Regions from separate parts of the Homo sapiens genome. Here all the other regions are linked to region 3. The links are contacts of gene promoters, found by promoter capture Hi-C in blood cells and fetal thymus (Javierre and others, 2016). All regions are on one chromosome and are shown on one strand. Each heading gives the region's core, a stretch centred on a gene start or on the middle of the fragment in contact. The rest is flanking DNA. Distances are from core to core; before and after follow the strand shown.

Region 1 (4,106 bases), core at 1,179-3,678, 430 kb after region 3:
TTCCACTACTACCCTCAAAACTTGCTTGGTCTATCTTGACATCTCCTGATTTGCCTGTTATATTCTCCATACTAGCAGAGTAATCTTATAAAACCACAAATTAAACTATATCACTCCCATGCTTAAAATTCTTCAGTGGTTTTTCTCCACCTCTAGTGTAAGTGAGTTAATTGCCTTATCTATAAAGTAGGATGAAAAATATAGTTCCTGTCTTATAAGACAGTTATGAAAATCAAATAAATTCTAAGTATAAGCACTTAATGCCTAATCCACAGTAAAATAATTTAAAATAATTACTACTATATCCTGCTTACATGTTTCTTCATGATTCAATTAAACAAACTATCTTTTCTCATTTCCCACAATCATCTTATGATTGTTCATGGACTCATATAAGGAAACCTCACCATTCCCCTCCTTTATGCTACAAATTTAATACTGTATATGCTTCTATTATCGCATTTATCGTATTCTGTAGTCAGAGAGCCTTGTTTTCCCCAGGAGATTGTGCTTCATGAAGACAATCTAATACACCTGAGTCTCCTAGTACAATGCCCTGTCCATAAATAATTACTGAAAAAAATTATGAGGAAGAAAATATAAGCAAAAGGATTTTAGCAGATGGCCATGCTTCTTTCAACACTGAAAATACTATTATTCTTTATATAAAATAAAGGCAGCAATTTTAGAATGGGTCTGAGGAATGAGTAGGTCAGCAGAAACTCACTCTGACAGAGGATGAAAGGATCTGTGGGCTCAGACTGTTAAGAGTGAAAAGTTAGACAAGCAAGCTAATATGTACTCATAGGCAAATTCTATTCTATTTATGTGCTATGCCAGAACACAAATACTAAAAGGTTAAGAAAGCAAAGAAGAAAAAAGTAATTATTGGGCTGATCCCAAAAGAGTAGTATGTAAAAAAAATACAGGATTTTACCAAGAAACTACTTTTCCATACCCTAAATTGGCACAGATAAGTACAAGGAAAGGAAGGTTAAAATGAAACAATTAGCTATATCCTATTAATTCATCTGCCATTCTTGAGGAAAGTTCAAAAGAGATGGAAAGGTATTGCTCATCATTCTTAGAATTAGGATAGAAGGTAACTTTATATCCAGACTAAAACTTAACACTGCAAGTCTGTGCCATGGAAAAGCCTTGCCCACTAACTCCATGTTCTCATCATCAGTTGTAAAAGCAAGAAAAAAATTAGTGGATATTTTCTCTGATTAATCCATCACAGGGGAATCCTTATCTCTGACACTGTGCATTCAAATACAGAAGTCCCGGTTCTCTCTCACTCCAGGACAGGAATAAAAGGCTGAGGAGGCCTAAACCCAGAATACTTTTTCCCACCCCTGAAACTCAAGTTCTAAAATAAAATGAAAACAGCACTACTAAAGTTTTAGATGTAACAATCTGACCAGAAAGGATGAGACTTGCTAATTTTTAAATGAGGTTTGACCTGGTATAGTGGTTAAGACTGGATGTGAATTCTACTTTTGAATTTGCTAGGCAGAAAGACTTGGGCAAGTCACTTAGCCTCTCTAAGCCTGAATTTTCTCATTTGTAAAATGAAGATAAAAATTGTACTATTTCATATGGAAAATTATATGTGATAATACATATAAAAACTTAGAATCTGCCTAACACACGGTAAGCACTCAATAAATATTATCTATCATTATTTCAAGGGGCAATTCTTGGTGCTGGAAAATCTGTAAGACAACATGTATATTACTAACTATGGTAGTTAGGGCTGAAAGTGATTAATTCACAAGAACATACGTAGACTAATGACACTGTTTTTAAATACTTTTATGTTTTAACAATCTTTAACTTAAAAGTTTTAAGTATAGTAAGGAAGACCTTTATCTTCCCAACCATTTGAGAGTAAATGTCTACATAATGACCCACCACTCTTGAATTCCTAGTATTTCCCAATTCTCTCACAAAAACAACCATTAAAATCAGGAAATTAACGGTAATACACTATGCTCACTGCTACCGTACTGCCACTGCTCCTAAGCCCCTTCTCAATGACCAGTATAGGGCATGTGTATGTATACATACACATACATTTCTATATCTATATATGATGAAAACCATGAGTTCGCACAAGTACTTCATTTCCTATCCAACACTACAGACAGCATTCTAATTTTCCCTACTTTCATATTAGTAAATCCCTTCTCAGACAATGAGAAGCCTGGCTCCCATTATTCTTAATACTGATCAATCTTCATGTACGTAACCAATCTCCCACTGTAGCTGTCTCTTTCCCTACACGGACACCCTCCTCACCTCTCTTGGCCCCAAAATCCCTACCCCATGTATATAATCTCCTTACCCTGTTCAGGTCCCTATTCCTCATGCCTGGCATCCCTCCTACAAGAATATCCTCCCTACCCTGCTCAGGCTATGAAATCCCATATTGTACCGAGCTCCACTGAGAGGCCTTCCTCCCTTTACCCTCAGGCTCTAATACCTTGGACTCAGATACCTCTATGTATGGACTCCCTCCTCATCTCACTTGAGCCTTAATATACCTACACCAGGCTGCAATCCTACATGGGTCACTCCCTACCCCCTGGTATCTACTGGGGCCCTGAGAGCTCATGCAGGATGACATCCCACCCCAAGTAGATGTCCTCCTTGCTGGGACCAGCTGACCTTCCCCCATACCAGGCCACTCTCCTTCACAGATACCATATCACCCTGCTTGGGCTCCAATACCCTGCCTTAGCATGCCTTCCAATGGAGAGGTGCTCCTTACCCTTCATTCCATCAACCCCCATGGACACCCTCCTCACCCTATAAGGTTCTGAGATCCCACTCCTCTTACATGACGATGTGGCTCTGCCTCCCACGCACCCCACCCAGTGTGGATACCTACCCTTGTTTTCTCCCACTTGATGTTTTAGTACTGAGCTGTTCAGAAAGGGAGGAGGAAGAAGACATTGAAGAACAATTAATTATATTTTAAAAAAAGAGACACCAGTGAATAAACTGTGTAAGCACCTATAATCAGAGCTAATTAAAACAACAATCTATTTGTCAGAGTACCTGCTTTTTTTCCATGTAAACAGTGCTCTATTCTTTTACACTAATTCCTTCTAAGTTTAAAAAGTTAATTGAAAATTATAATACAGAAGAGAGCACTGGGTTTCCTTCTAACCAAACATGCATTTTACTTAAGTATCTTACATAGGCCTGTGGAAAATCTAGTTAATTTAAAAAGAAGAAAAAACCCTACTAATTTTATTTTGAGAGTTTAAAAAATACAGTTGTTCCAAACACTAAAATATACATAAATGTGTGTATGGGTACATATATATATGTGTGTGTGTCTGTGTGTGTGTGTGTATATATATATGTATGTATGTATATATGTATGTATGTGTGTATATATATATATTTGAGATGGAGTCTTGCTCTGTTGCCCAGGCTGGAGTGCAGTGGCATGATCTCGGCTCACTGCAACCTCCGCCTCCCGGGTTCAAGCGATTCTCCTGCCTCAGCCTCCTGAGCAGCTGAGATTACAGGCACCTGCCACCACGCCTGGCTAATTTTTGTATTTTTAGTACAGACAGGGTTTCTGTACATGTTGGCCAGGCTGGTCTTGAGCTCCTGACCTCATATGATCTGCCTGTCTCAGCTTCCCAAAGCGCTGGGATTACAAACGTGAGCCACCGGGCCCGGCCATAACATATTTTTTAAAATATCCAGAACAAGTAAATTTGACTTGTTTTCAGAATATTAACAGTTGTATTGTTTCCAGTATACTTACCCCCAGATACAACCCTGCAAAAATTAACAGCCATGATTGTTACAATACCTTTCCCTTGCTCCTGGTTTCTATGAGGAAGGATGCATCAAAAGCACAACCTGAGCCTCTTTTTACCCTTAGCTAGTAAAGTGAATTATCCGATTGGTGATTCTGGATTTGAGGAAGAGCTCAGTTCTATTCCTCTTGCCCCTGGGGTTGAGCTTTCAAAGGAGAACAAACCTCCAAAGACTCATATTCAGCTCTGCTTCTCTACTGAGCCTAGGACTGGATGGATAAGTCAGCCTATGCCAGACCACCTGACTCCCCCATCAAGCTA
Region 2 (4,058 bases), core at 662-3,161, 480 kb after region 3:
ACTGAGGCTCAAGGTCATTGGGCCAAGTTCAACAAATGAAGCACAGTCAGAAATAAAACCAGAGTTTACTGGTTTCAATACCTGTAATTTTTTTTCTTGCGTACTGTAGTTTCCCACATTTTGGGCTTCTGAGTCTTAAAAAGGCTATGAATTAATTGCAATAGAATAGTAAATCCTATCAGTTTATATGAGAAATCAAGAGACTAAAGAAATTCATTCTCACCCATGTATTCACTATTATTCCTCCATTCGGTTAAGATGCTATTATGACATGTATAGTGCAATCTCATTTAAGAGTGTAATTAATTCACAGGTTTTTTTTGTCATTAAGCATTTTCTTTAACTATTATATGGAGTATCTTTTACTGTTATTATTTTTTAACATGGAGAAAGAATCCTTGCTGCCTCCTCCTCTGGAAGGAAAATCATCAACTGTTTTAAATAAAATGCAAGTCAATCAATTGAAAATAATATTGCAGAGAAAGTTTGTTTTTTGTTTTTTTTTAAAAACAAAACTTCCAGCTAGGTGCAGTGGCTCATGTCTGTAATCCCAGCACTTTGGGAGGCTGAGACGGGTGGATCATTTGAGGCCAGGAGTTCGAGACCATGCCTGGGCAACATGGCAAAACCCTGTCTCTACTAAAAATACAAAAAAAATTAGCTAGGCATGGTGGCCCACGCCTGTAAACCCAGCGACTCTGGAGGTTGAGGCATGAGAATTGCTTGAACCCGGGAGGCGGAGGTTACAGTGAGCTGAGATCATGCCGCTGCACTCCAGCCTGGGTGACAGAGCGAGATCTTGTCTCAAAAACAAAACAAACCAAAACCAAAACCAAAACTTCCTGCTGGTTACTATTTTGGAAGCCTGTGGTTTCTTTGTAGTTCAAAGTATTACTTGTAGTTTGCACCCCAAAGCTTGGGATTCTCAAATTGACACAGAAGACCAGATTTTCCTTTTGACGAAGCTGTTTTTGAGACAGGATACAAAAGTTCCTTTATTTTTGCAACTGCTCTGAAAATCTTACAAAATATTATAATATTTAAGGTTAGGTGATCCAGAAAACAAACAAAAACATCTTATATTTTTCATGAACTAAAAACTAGTTCTGCTACTGTTGTACAAAATGATAAAATCTTTCCAGTTAACTCCTCAATAAAAAGAAACAGCTTTTGAATTAAGGTTTTAAAAAAATCTATATTATCTTGGGCCAGAAGAAAACAATGGCAGACCAGGGAGATGATAACTGCGCAAGAGATGTGTGAAACAGCAAAGAGAATCATGTCAGCCCCCTCGGGCTCTTCTTTCCATCCCCCTCCACACAAATACCTCATCACTAGGACACTTTTGACTGAAAGAAAATGCTATTAAAATTGTATATTTTTTAATTTTTAATTTATATCTGGTATATATTGGTCAGTCTGCCCCTAAAAAACAGGAGTAGGGTTCAGTAAGGTACATTTTAGAACAGTTAAAGAATTTTTAAAATTCCTCTTCCACTCTCACAGTTGAGCTTTGACTACCTGTATTAGCAAAATGGTATGCAAATTTAGTTGCTTTCTTGTTCAAAGACAGCAAGAATAAGAAATGCCTTTCAGTATGTGTTAGAGTGATACTTCCATTAACCCTTGTGTTTTAGCTCTTTCAAATGTCTCAGCATTATAGATAAGTGGTTGACAGAAGGAAGTCTTGCCAAATATGCAAATGAGAGAAACAATTACAATAAAAGGTTATTTTATATAAAAATGAATGTATTCTATTTCTTAAGGGAAATAAAAAGGAAGTTCAATTTAAAAAGATATTTTTATAAGAATTAATATGAATATATATTTTCAAAGTATTTAACATCTTTCCCCAGTTGCTTTTCATGAATCTCACCATTGCTTGGTACTGTACTTTTTGTTCCATTTAATTAATTTTTTTCTGTGTTGCTATTTCTCACTGGTTAATAATTGGCAAATTTATAAAAAAATTAAAATGACCTTAAAAAGATAAAAATTTATAAAAGAAGAACATTTATTTTAAAAGATGCAAAGCTGACTATTCTGTAGATTAAAAAACAGAGATTTTTCTCCCTCATGAAATGAAGGATATACTGAGCGTATTAGTCAGCATTCTCCAAGCAGACAAAACCAATAGGATATATCTATTAATGTATTTGTCTGTCTCTATCTCTCATCTCTCTTTATGTCTATCTATAGATAAATATGTTAGGGAAAATTTATTAGGGGAATTGGCTCATGTGATTATGGAGGCTGAGAAGTTCCAAGACAGCCCTCTGCAAGTTGGATGCTGGAAGCATGGCTCAGTCCAAGTTTGAAGGTCTAAGAACCTGTGGGGGCCACTGATATAAGTCCTAAAGTCCAAAGGCTGAAGAGCCTGGGTTTCTGATGTACGAGGGCTGGAGAAGAAGAGTGTATCCTGGCTCAAGAAGAGAGAGGGATCAATTTGCCTTTCCTCTGTTTTCATTCTGTCAGGGCTCCCAGTTATTTGGATCATGTCTGCCTATATTGAGGGTGGATCTTCTCCACGTAGTCCACTCACATTCACATGCCAATCTCCTCCAGAAGCAACCTCACAGACACACTCCTTAAAATAATACCAGTTATCTAGCTATTTCTTAATTCAGTCAAGTTAATACCTGAAATTAATCATCACACTGAGATTTCTACAGAAGATTCCAAAAGCACCCAGGAAAATAATTCATTATTTTTAAATTTAAAAAATACACAAAGTGAGATTTAATACCCAGAAAAATGGCTGACACAATAACATAAATACAGATTCCCCTCTTTTTAAGAATTTAAGGATGCTAGAACTGACAGACTATATTTAGAACATTTTAGATATTGAAAGAATAAGGAAAGCAGCTGGTAAAGTTTAAAGAATATAGTTGGAACTACACTTTTCAAGCTTTTAGATGGCTCACTTGGTTTTTATTTATGAAAAATTATATATTATTTAAAACTTTGTACTCTACTTGAGGACAAACAAAATAGTCAATTCTTGTTATTCATGGTAAAGTTCTGTAAACATCGAGTTAGCAAATACAAAACTATTACTCCCGGGAAATACAGGATTAGGTTCCTGAAAGCCTCTGGTCACATTTTCATCAGTTGATCAATACATAACATTGTTGTATGTTCATTTCTGTTTAAAAACACCCCATTTAATATACATTGCTAGTTCATTAACATTGAACTCAGTGGCTGACAGTACTATAACTCATGTCTGAATGAAGCTTCGCTAACATACCTGTCTTCTCTGTGAGGCACATCACAACCTCCTTGCACTTAGAAACACTAGACAACACTTCAGTACTATGCTTGGGGACCATATTAAACAAGGAGATTACAAAAAAAAAAAAAAAAAGCACAAAAATCGGCACTAAATAGACCACTAAAAAGACACATTTATAGTATGACAGCTGAAAAAGAAGACAGAGATTCACCTTGTTCAACTTCAGCTGGAAATGTGTGACTCAAATTTTCACTGATCTGTGCATTCCCACAAATGACAATGAAAGTGCTTGGGGATTCCAAATTAATTTTAGGGAGTAGGCTAATTTGAAAATATGGAATCATGAATAAAATGAGATTGTATCTTGTTCACCTTTGTGTCACTACTGTCACTACTGATTGTAATATTTTCTGTCATGTGGTAGTAGTTCAATATATATGCATATATATATTGAATAAATGGAAATAGTGTTCCTTAATTTTTAAATGAACCCCATTGTATAGTCCTATTTTGTTTTACGCTCTTGAGAAGTTTGTGATAGTCTGTAAATATTCAGTTAGTTTTCAAATACAAACATTTTATAATAATATAAATGCTTGTTTTGTTAGGCTTACATTTCCCTTTGGAACTTTGAAGATATTGCTCCCTTACCTTTGGCATTTAAAATTAATACAAATTCTGATGCCACTATAAATCTCAGTCTTTTGTGGTATTAATGCCCCTCCCCTCCCTACTTTGGAAGCTTTTAGGATATTTTCTTTTGCTTGAAATTCTGAAAATTTATAATAGGTATTTATACTCCTTATAATATGTACATTAG
Region 3 (3,814 bases), core at 1,315-3,814:
GCTGTCTTTGGAGCAAATATAGATAAAATTTGGTGAGTTTATTGAGTTTATGATGCAACTCCATTTTAACTATCTAGAGAAGGTGGAAGCCAGAGTGGACCTACCAGTCCAACCCACTCAGCCTTCAAGAGAGGAAGATCAAATCTCTCCTCTGGAGTGTCTAGCTCTTGGAGAGTGAAATAGACATTCTTTCTTTCCTGCAACTGAGCTCAAGGTGAAGACTTTGCTCACTGCAGCTGGTGTAAGCCTCCCCACACCCCTGCACCTCAGCTAAAATTGCAATCAGATCAACAGTGGTGTAATTTTTTTAAAAAGAGATGGGGTCTTGCTCTGTGACCTAAGCTGGAGTGTAGTAGTACAATTATGGCTCACTGCAGACTCAACCTCCCAGGCTCAAGCAAACCTCCTACCTCAGTCTCCCCATTAGCGGGACTACAGGCACACATCTGGCTAATTTTTTAACTTTTTGTAGAGATGGGTATCTCACTACCTTGCCCAGGGTGGTCTTGAACTCCTGGGCTGAGTCGATCCTCCCACCTCGGCCTCCCAAAGTCCTGGGATTATAAGCATGAGTCACTGCACCCAGCTGGCTGGTGTCATTATTAAGAACAATTTTTGTATCCCTCCTCGTGCTTACCCATATTCTCCGAGTTGCATTCAGCTGTGTACTTTTTTACAATGAGAAATTTAAAACCAGCCGGGCGCGGTGGTTCACGCCCGTAATCCCAGCAATTTGGGAGGCCAGGGCGGGTGGATCACTTGAGGTCAGTACTTCAAGACCCACCTGGCCAACATGGTGAAACTCCATCTCTACTGAAAATACAAAAATTAGCCAGGCGTGTTGGCGGGCGCCTGTAATCCCAACTACTTGGGAGGCTGAGGCAGGAGAATCGCTGGAACCCAGGGGTGGAGGTTGCAATAAGCTGAGATCACACCAGTGCACTCCAGCCTGGGTGACAGAGCAAGACTCCGTTAAAAAAAAAAAAGTAAAAAATAAGGAATTAAAAAAAACAAAACGCTTTACAGAAAATAAAAATATATAAAAATATTGAGCACTACTTGAAAACTTTCTATTGAAACCATCCCCACTGTGTTGACAAAAATTTCATGCCAAGTTCTAGGCAGAAATATAGTTATAATTAAGCATTAATCAGGCTGTACTTTGGCCCACTTCCTTGTTGCTAAAAGTCACCTAGCACTACATACTGACCATTTGCATTCCCATTGTTCCTATAGACAGGATCTCTGACATTAGAATCATAAGCTTTCTGTTTAAGGATCGCTTAAGATATTTTTCAGACCTTGAATTCCAGCTACCAGTTTGAAGATCCCCAGAGAGGAATGGGGTCAGCTTAAGAATACAGGTTCTTCAACGCCCTGTCCCATGACTTCACCCTGCACTCTTCAATCAACGATCTCCACACTATAGCCCTCTCCAAAACCCTTAAAAACCTTGACCCCAAATTCCTCAGGGAGATGGATTTGAGGTTTCCTCCCATCTCCTCCTTTGGCGACTCCACGATTACACCTCTTTCTCTGCTGCAACCCTGGTGTCTGGGCGTATTGACTTGCTATGTGCACGAGTCAACGAACCTAATAGTGTTACATCATTTTCAAAAACAGTATTTACACCGTTGCACCTGTGGAACAGATGAAAGGACACGAATAAAAATAACTCAGGCCAGGTGCGGTGGCTCACGCCTGTAATCCCAGCACTTAGCGAGGCCGAGGCAAGTGGATCACGAGGTCAGGACTTCGAGACCAGCCTGGACAACATGGTGAAACCTCGTCTCTACTAAAAATACAAAGAGTTGCCGGGCACGGTGGCTCACGCCTGTAAGTAATCCCAGCACTTTGGCAGGCTGAGGCGGGTGTATCACCAGAGGTCAGGAGTTCAAAGCCAGCCTGGCTAACATGGCCAAACACTGTCTCTACTAAAAATACAAAGATTAGCCAGGTGTGGTGGTGGGCGCCTGTAGTCCCAACTACTCGGGAGGCTGAGGCAGGAGAATCTGTTGAACCCGAAAGGCGGAGGTTGCAGTGAGCCGAGATTGCGCCACTGCACTCCAGCCAGGGCTACAAGAGCGAGACTCCGCCTCAAAAAAAAAATCCAAAAAAACAACAAAAAAACACAAAGATTAGCTGGGCGTGGTGGCGGGCGCCCCTAATCCCAGCTACTCGGGAGGACGAGGCAGGAGAATCGTTTCAACTAAGCAGCGGGAGGTTGCAGTGAGCCGAGATCGCTCCATTGCACTCCAACCTGGGTGACAGAGCGAGACTCCGACTCAAAAAAACCAAACAAACAAACGAAAACTCAGTGGGAGTGTCTTCACTATGCAGTCGTCTATTCAGCAACCTTGACAACAAGCTCTGGCACTCAGTTTCTATTTCCCGGGAGTTGCCCAGCGCTCCGCCCACGCCCGCTTGCAGAACTCGCCCCGCCTCCGCCCCACCCATCGTGTGACGTCACCATATCGGTCCCGCCCCTCTACTTCGCGTTGCTCCCGGGACTGTCAACCGCGTCCGGAAGCCCCGCCTTTTCGCCCCCGCCCGCATGCGCGGGCGCACACGAATGCGGGCGCACACGAATGCGGGCGCACACGAATGCGGGCGCACCCTTGAGTCCCCTCCACAACCGCGGTTTGATCCCAGCGGTCCAGTCGGCCGGTGCTGCCCATCCGTCCCGCCCCCTAGACGCACGTCCGCTCGCCCGGCGCCCGAGCCAGTCCGCGCGCACGCCGTCTGCGCCCCGAAAGCCCCGCCCCAAGGCGCGCCCGCCCACCGCTCTCCACGTGCTCGCTGGAGGGCGGTGCGAGGGGCCGAGCCGACAAGATGTTCTTGCTGCCTCTTCCGGCTGCGGGGCGAGTAGTCGTCCGACGTCTGGCCGTGAGACGTTTCGGGAGCCGGAGTCTCTCCACCGCAGACATGACGAAGGTGAGAGGCGGCGGCTCGCTCATGGTCCGCCGCTGGGGCCCTGCCCGTGGGCTACTGGGGCTGCGGGGCTGGTCGAAGCCGCGGTGTCCTGGGCGCCCAAGCCAAGTTGCAAAAATCAGTTTAAAAGAAAAATTCTCTCCTTGCGGGGATCGGCCTAGGCCGCTGAGGACCCCAGCGGTCGTATTGAGGGCGCGATTCCCCTGCTCGGGGCTAGGGGGTGATGGTTGTAGCCGCCCTTTACCCGGCTCCACTCGGCCGCGCACTTGCTCCAGTCGTCACCCGCGGTCCTGGCAGTAACCCGGGGAAAGACGCGGCGGTGGGGCTCCCATCCGAGCTTGGAGGAAGCCCGAGTTTGCCAAGGTGAAAGGGTTTCTGAGGTCCCAGAGTCACAGGGCTCCTTCCCCCGCGGAAGTGAAAGGTCAGGGAGTTAAGTAGCTTGGAAGGGTTTCTAGAGGAAAAGCATGCCTCTCTAGAGAAAAGGGCTTTGGGGAGAGACCCACGTTTCCCAGAATTAAGAGCATCTTCCAGAAGAAAAGTGAACTCCAAAAAATTACGAAGGTCGCTCTTCAGATGTGAAGGATCTGCAAAGGGAATGGCTCTCGGAACCAGCACAAGCTTGGGAGTCATGCCTAAGCACCAGAAAGAGATGACTGTCCCTGCAGAAGAACGTTCTAGGGGGAGCTTGAGCTCCAGTCTCCTGCAGGTATCTCAGTGGTGGAGGGACCAGTCGCCTGACCAGTGCTATCTCCAGTACTGTGCCACAGCCTACCCAGATAACAGTTGCTCAGTTGGCTCCATTGATTCCCGGGGAGTGAACAATCTTAGGGAAGTTAGAACCTGGCAGAGTTACCAATGCCAAGGAAGGCCGTTTTCTTTGGTG
Region 4 (4,308 bases), core at 1,461-3,960, 260 kb after region 3:
GGTCTTTAGACTTCTGTCTCAAGCATATACCACAAAGCACGAAAGAAACATGACCTTGGGAAATGTGGAGAAATCATATGAAAACAGAAGTAATCAATGCTAACATTTTTGCTACTGAAAAGAAATTACTAAAAATCCACCACCCACACCATGCCCACCTAGTACTGACTGTTAATCTGAAGTAATAACCTATGTTATCTAGGACTCACAGAGTCTTCAAATGTTGGCTTACCTGCTATGCTTCTGGCACAAGAAAGGAGAATTCAAAGACTAGAACTCACCTCAAGCTTTTTTGGCTTTTAATTCAAAGAAGATAAATCAATTGCACACTGACTCACAGACTGAACTTAAGCTGGGTTGTTTTAATCCTTTAATGGCATTTGGTCAAACTTGTTACCATTTTTGAAATTTAATGTATTAGTGATTTCAGATGCTAACAGATTAAGTTGAAAGTATTACTCTATTTTATTTGATATTTAGTGATAAGCTACTCTGTTCAATTCATATGTTGTATATTATTGGAAAGATAAGATTACAAAGGATATTAGGCAAAATTAGGTAAGGGTCAGTAATAGAGCTATTAAGCACTTCATGACTTGAGACAAGGGCAAGAGTCATGTGGTAGGAATGATGAGTACAGCATTAGTTTTAAAACTCATTGACCAAAATTCAGTTAGGCCTTGTTGGTATTTGGGGAGTGGTTTGGGTAGAGGAAGGATGTTTTAGTAAAGGTGATATATGTAGATGGTTATGCAAATATTGGGGAACTGTAGAAAGATGACTTTGGCTAAGGATCCTGAATAGGACTGTTAGGGCACAACACTGGGGGTAGATTATAGATTGCTTTAAAGGCCAATGTAGGGAATTTGGAGTTGGCCTTATGTGCAATGGATAATTATGCAGGGCTTATGATGAAAGGGTTAATGTCATGAAAACCACTTATTGGAAAGATTAATTTGGTGGTCAGTGGTGGTTATATGAGATGAATTGGTGAGCAGAAAGAAAAGAATATTAATAAAGAAAGCAGCTGAAAATCTGTATAATTCGCTTGTAGAAAAAGTACTAGAAAGTAATAGTAGAAAGAATAGAAATTGACCTAATAAAGAATTATGGGTACAAGAATCTAAAAGAAAGAGCTTGAGAGGCAAGGGAGATGGAGGAGTCCAGGAAAACTCTAAGTATGTGTAACAGCAGACTTCAAAGGAGCTGTTGACATAGTTTAATTGGGGAGTACTCTCATGATCAGTGTCTTGGAAGAGTAAGGGAAAAGTAGATTGGGGCATAGCCCTAAGTTCAACTACTGCTATGCAAACAAAGGCCCCAGCCAATCCCATAGGGAGTTCCGGAACTGGGATGTTCCTTTGAGTTGTCCAGAATGGAGACAAGCTGAAACACTGTACTTGTGCACGGGCCAGTCATTGGATTTGGACAAATCTTTGGGAGAAGAGGTATGATCTTGGACAAGGTCCACCAAAGTCCACCATTGTCAGCCTGGATCAGTACTGCAGCTGGGAACTTTTACCCTCCAAAACATGCAGCAACTGGGGGATGAGTGCATCTTTCCTAAAGGGAGTGGAACTGGGCCCTATATCACAACATCCACAACAAGAAGTCAAGAAGGGGAGCTTATTTTGGGGGTAGGGAGGATGTTAAATTTGGTTTTAGACATTTTATATTTGGGATTATGGCAAGAAAATTAGTTGGAAATATTTGTTAGATGTGTAAGACTATATAATAATCATAATCATCTTCAATTTACAGAGAATTTTCTCTTAATTTTTTAGGCCTTAACAGTACATGACAATTTGGCTATGAAAATTTGCAATGAGATCTTAACAAGTCCGTGCTCGCCAGAAATTCGAGTCTATACAAAAGCCTTGAGTTCTTTAGAACTCAGTAGCCATCTTGCAAAAGATCTTCTGGTTCTATTGAATGAGATTCTGGAGGTAAAGTAGTTTCTCATTACTCTAAATTAGTTTGTGTTTATATTTATACATGTAGAATTTACATGGTTGTATTAGATTATACATATGTTAGCATATTGTGACTTATTTGAAGTATTTTCTTCATAAATTTCATATAATTTAGTGTTTTTAAACAACTTGATATGTATTGGTACTATTTTCAAAGATTAGGGAATGCGGTGTTTACAAAATGTTAATAATGTTTTCTTTTATAGCAAGTAAAAGATAGGACATGTCTGAGAGCTTTGGAGAAAATCAAGATTCAGTTAGAAAAAGGAAATAAAGAATTTGGTGACCAAGCTGAAGCAGCACAGGATGCCACCTTGACTACAACTACTTTCCAAAATGAAGATGGTAATCACATACTGAACAGAATATTTATAAGGTTCTGTTTTTTTTTTTCCATCTTTACTGAGACATATTTTTTTCTACTCTAACATGTTTGGTTGGACATCAGAAATGAATGAAATTTTTTTTCTAATTAATCCTCTTGGGAAAGAGCATTACTGATAAATGTTTATTCTGCTTTTCAAGTGTTTTTTGGCATGCATTTCTCAACATATGACCATCTTTTTAAGAGTTTTGCTTCTTTTTCCAATATTCAAATTTTCGAAAGGGTGATTTATAACTTTTCACTAGCTGCTAGAAGGACTTTGTCATTTCAGTTTTATAAAAACTGGTCTTAAAAAGACAATTTAAAATATTTCATGAGGTTATCTTATTTATATTGTTGTATTATTCCCTTTAATAGAAAAGAATAAAGAAGTATATATGACTCCACTCAGGGGTGTAAAAGCAACCCAAGCATCAAAGTCTACTCAGCTAAAGACTAACAGAGGTAGTGTGTGGATTGACCATCTTTATGATAAAAGTTTTAAATTTTATCTTCCAATGAAAAATACTTGTTTTGCAAGTTTTCTTATCTTTGTTTCCTTAGGGATAAAGATTTTTTTTAAAATGTCTTTGGTATCCTTTCTTTTTAATTCTTTCTGTGGATGTCAGTTTTTGCCTTGTGTCTAAAGATTATAAAATCAGTGTTGCTCTTGGTGCTTTAGATTGAAAGAAGTATGATGCAAAAGATATTACAAAAGACAATTTGGGTTAAATTAAGATTTGGTTAAATGATGGTTTTATATTAGTTATTTGTGTTCTATCCTTCCTGTAACTAAGCATTTTTAAAAAATCCCTGTAGTATTTTTCTGGGCTTTGTTTTCCTTCTATTCCCATCTTATTTCATATTTTCCCAACTTATTTCCCAAGGGCTATCCAACAATAGGGGATCTGTTGGCAAAGTAAATGCTGACTATTAGGGGGTCACTTGGAAAAAAATCTGAAATTCAAGATCTTTTTATTGTTTTATTATTTCCTCATTACAAAAGCAATGCATGCTTATTACAGAAGAATCAGAAAGTACATCCAGACAAACTACTATAAGGAACACTAATAATCCCACCCATGAGCCAACCATGATTTTGATTTTAGAAATCTATTTTTTAAGGCCCTTTTCGATGCAGATTTAATTTTTTCTAAAATGGAGTCTGGTCATAATATTGTTTTGTAACCAGTAAATTATTTAAATACCAATTGCTGGATATTGTTCCAAATTAGTCCCATATTGTTGGATGTTTTCTTGGGGATAAATGCATTAGTAAAAGCAGGTAAGGAGTAGAAAAAAGTGTAACATGAATGAAGTAGAGTATATAATTTTCAGACTGTCACATTGAACAGTTTGGTTTTGATCAGATTTTTTTTGTGGTATATCACACCATGAGAACACCATCCTTTTTAATAGACCAAACTTCATATATTCATATTGTTTTATTCCTTATAAATGAGAAACATCACAAGCCAAACTTTGTCTTACTCCTTAACCTTGTAAATTTCTAGTAAGTAGAATCTTATAATCCCCAGTATATAAAGGTTCTAGTTTTTACATTGAAATATATTTTAGAACACATTTGAATTGGTCATGTATGTTATTTTACAAGAAGCCATTATTACCTTACTATGTTTTATCACCTTCCAAGAAAAAAAAAAGTTGTTTCTTTAGCACCTGTTTATGCACCTAACCTACCTTTCTAACCCTTAATTTTCATGAGTCTCCACAGACTTTGTGCTATAGCAATAATAGAGGTACTTCATTATAACACATTTTTCATATACTGTCCTCAAATACATTGAACTAAAATTTGCCTTCTTTTAACTTGCTTGAAATTTCCTTATTTTCCCTTACTCATTATTAGTGCTTACAAAATAAATTAAGTTTTAATCTTGCTTGGGTTCCTTTTTCTGTGGCAGTGATAACTGGTACCAAGATGGCTAGAACAAGTAGGAGATACATGTG

What was found. The method cuts DNA at HindIII sites, captures the fragments that hold promoters and counts their contacts. A CHiCAGO score of 5 or more calls a contact.
Region 1: a fragment that was not itself captured here is called in contact with the fragment with the promoter of LAP3 in region 3 in 5 of 17 cell types (total CD8 T cells, non-activated CD4 T cells, fetal thymus and 2 more); the score reaches 7.2 in total CD8 T cells.
Region 2: a contact is called between a fragment that was not itself captured here and the fragment with the promoter of LAP3 in region 3, in 4 of 17 cell types (fetal thymus, total B cells, naive B cells and 1 more). The highest score is 7.3, in fetal thymus.
Region 4: a contact is called between a fragment that was not itself captured here and the fragment with the promoter of LAP3 in region 3, in 1 of 17 cell types (neutrophils). The highest score is 5.7, in neutrophils.

What each region holds. Positions count from the first base shown.
Region 1 is chr4:18,007,048-18,011,153 of GRCh38, forward strand. All of the region lies in intron 1 of LCORL (ligand dependent nuclear receptor corepressor like), which reads right to left. Among named protein-coding and RNA genes, the nearest start is that of LCORL, 13 kb to the right of the region's middle. The HindIII fragment of the contact is 5,084 bases long and covers 1-4,106 here.
Region 2 is chr4:18,056,747-18,060,804 of GRCh38, forward strand. No RefSeq gene overlaps it. Among named protein-coding and RNA genes, the nearest start is that of LCORL, 37 kb to the left of the region's middle. RefSeq lists an enhancer at 749-908. The HindIII fragment of the contact is 1,996 bases long and covers 914-2,909 here.
Region 3 is chr4:17,574,634-17,578,447 of GRCh38, forward strand. LAP3 (leucine aminopeptidase 3) reads left to right here and starts at 2,565. Exons shown (of 13, transcript NM_015907.3): 1 at 2,565-2,934. The coding sequence starts at 2,833. RefSeq lists enhancers at 2,213-2,572, 2,913-3,112 and a silencer at 2,633-2,842. The HindIII fragment of the contact is 2,285 bases long and covers 1,263-3,547 here.
Region 4 is chr4:17,837,892-17,842,199 of GRCh38, forward strand. It overlaps NCAPG (non-SMC condensin I complex subunit G), which reads left to right. Exons shown (of 21, transcript NM_022346.5): 17 at 1,785-1,946; 18 at 2,180-2,318; 19 at 2,716-2,802. It overlaps LCORL (ligand dependent nuclear receptor corepressor like), which reads right to left. Exons shown (of 8, transcript NM_001394446.1): 8 at 3,296-4,308. Among named protein-coding and RNA genes, the nearest start is that of NCAPG, 29 kb to the left of the region's middle. The HindIII fragment of the contact is 4,850 bases long and covers 286-4,308 here.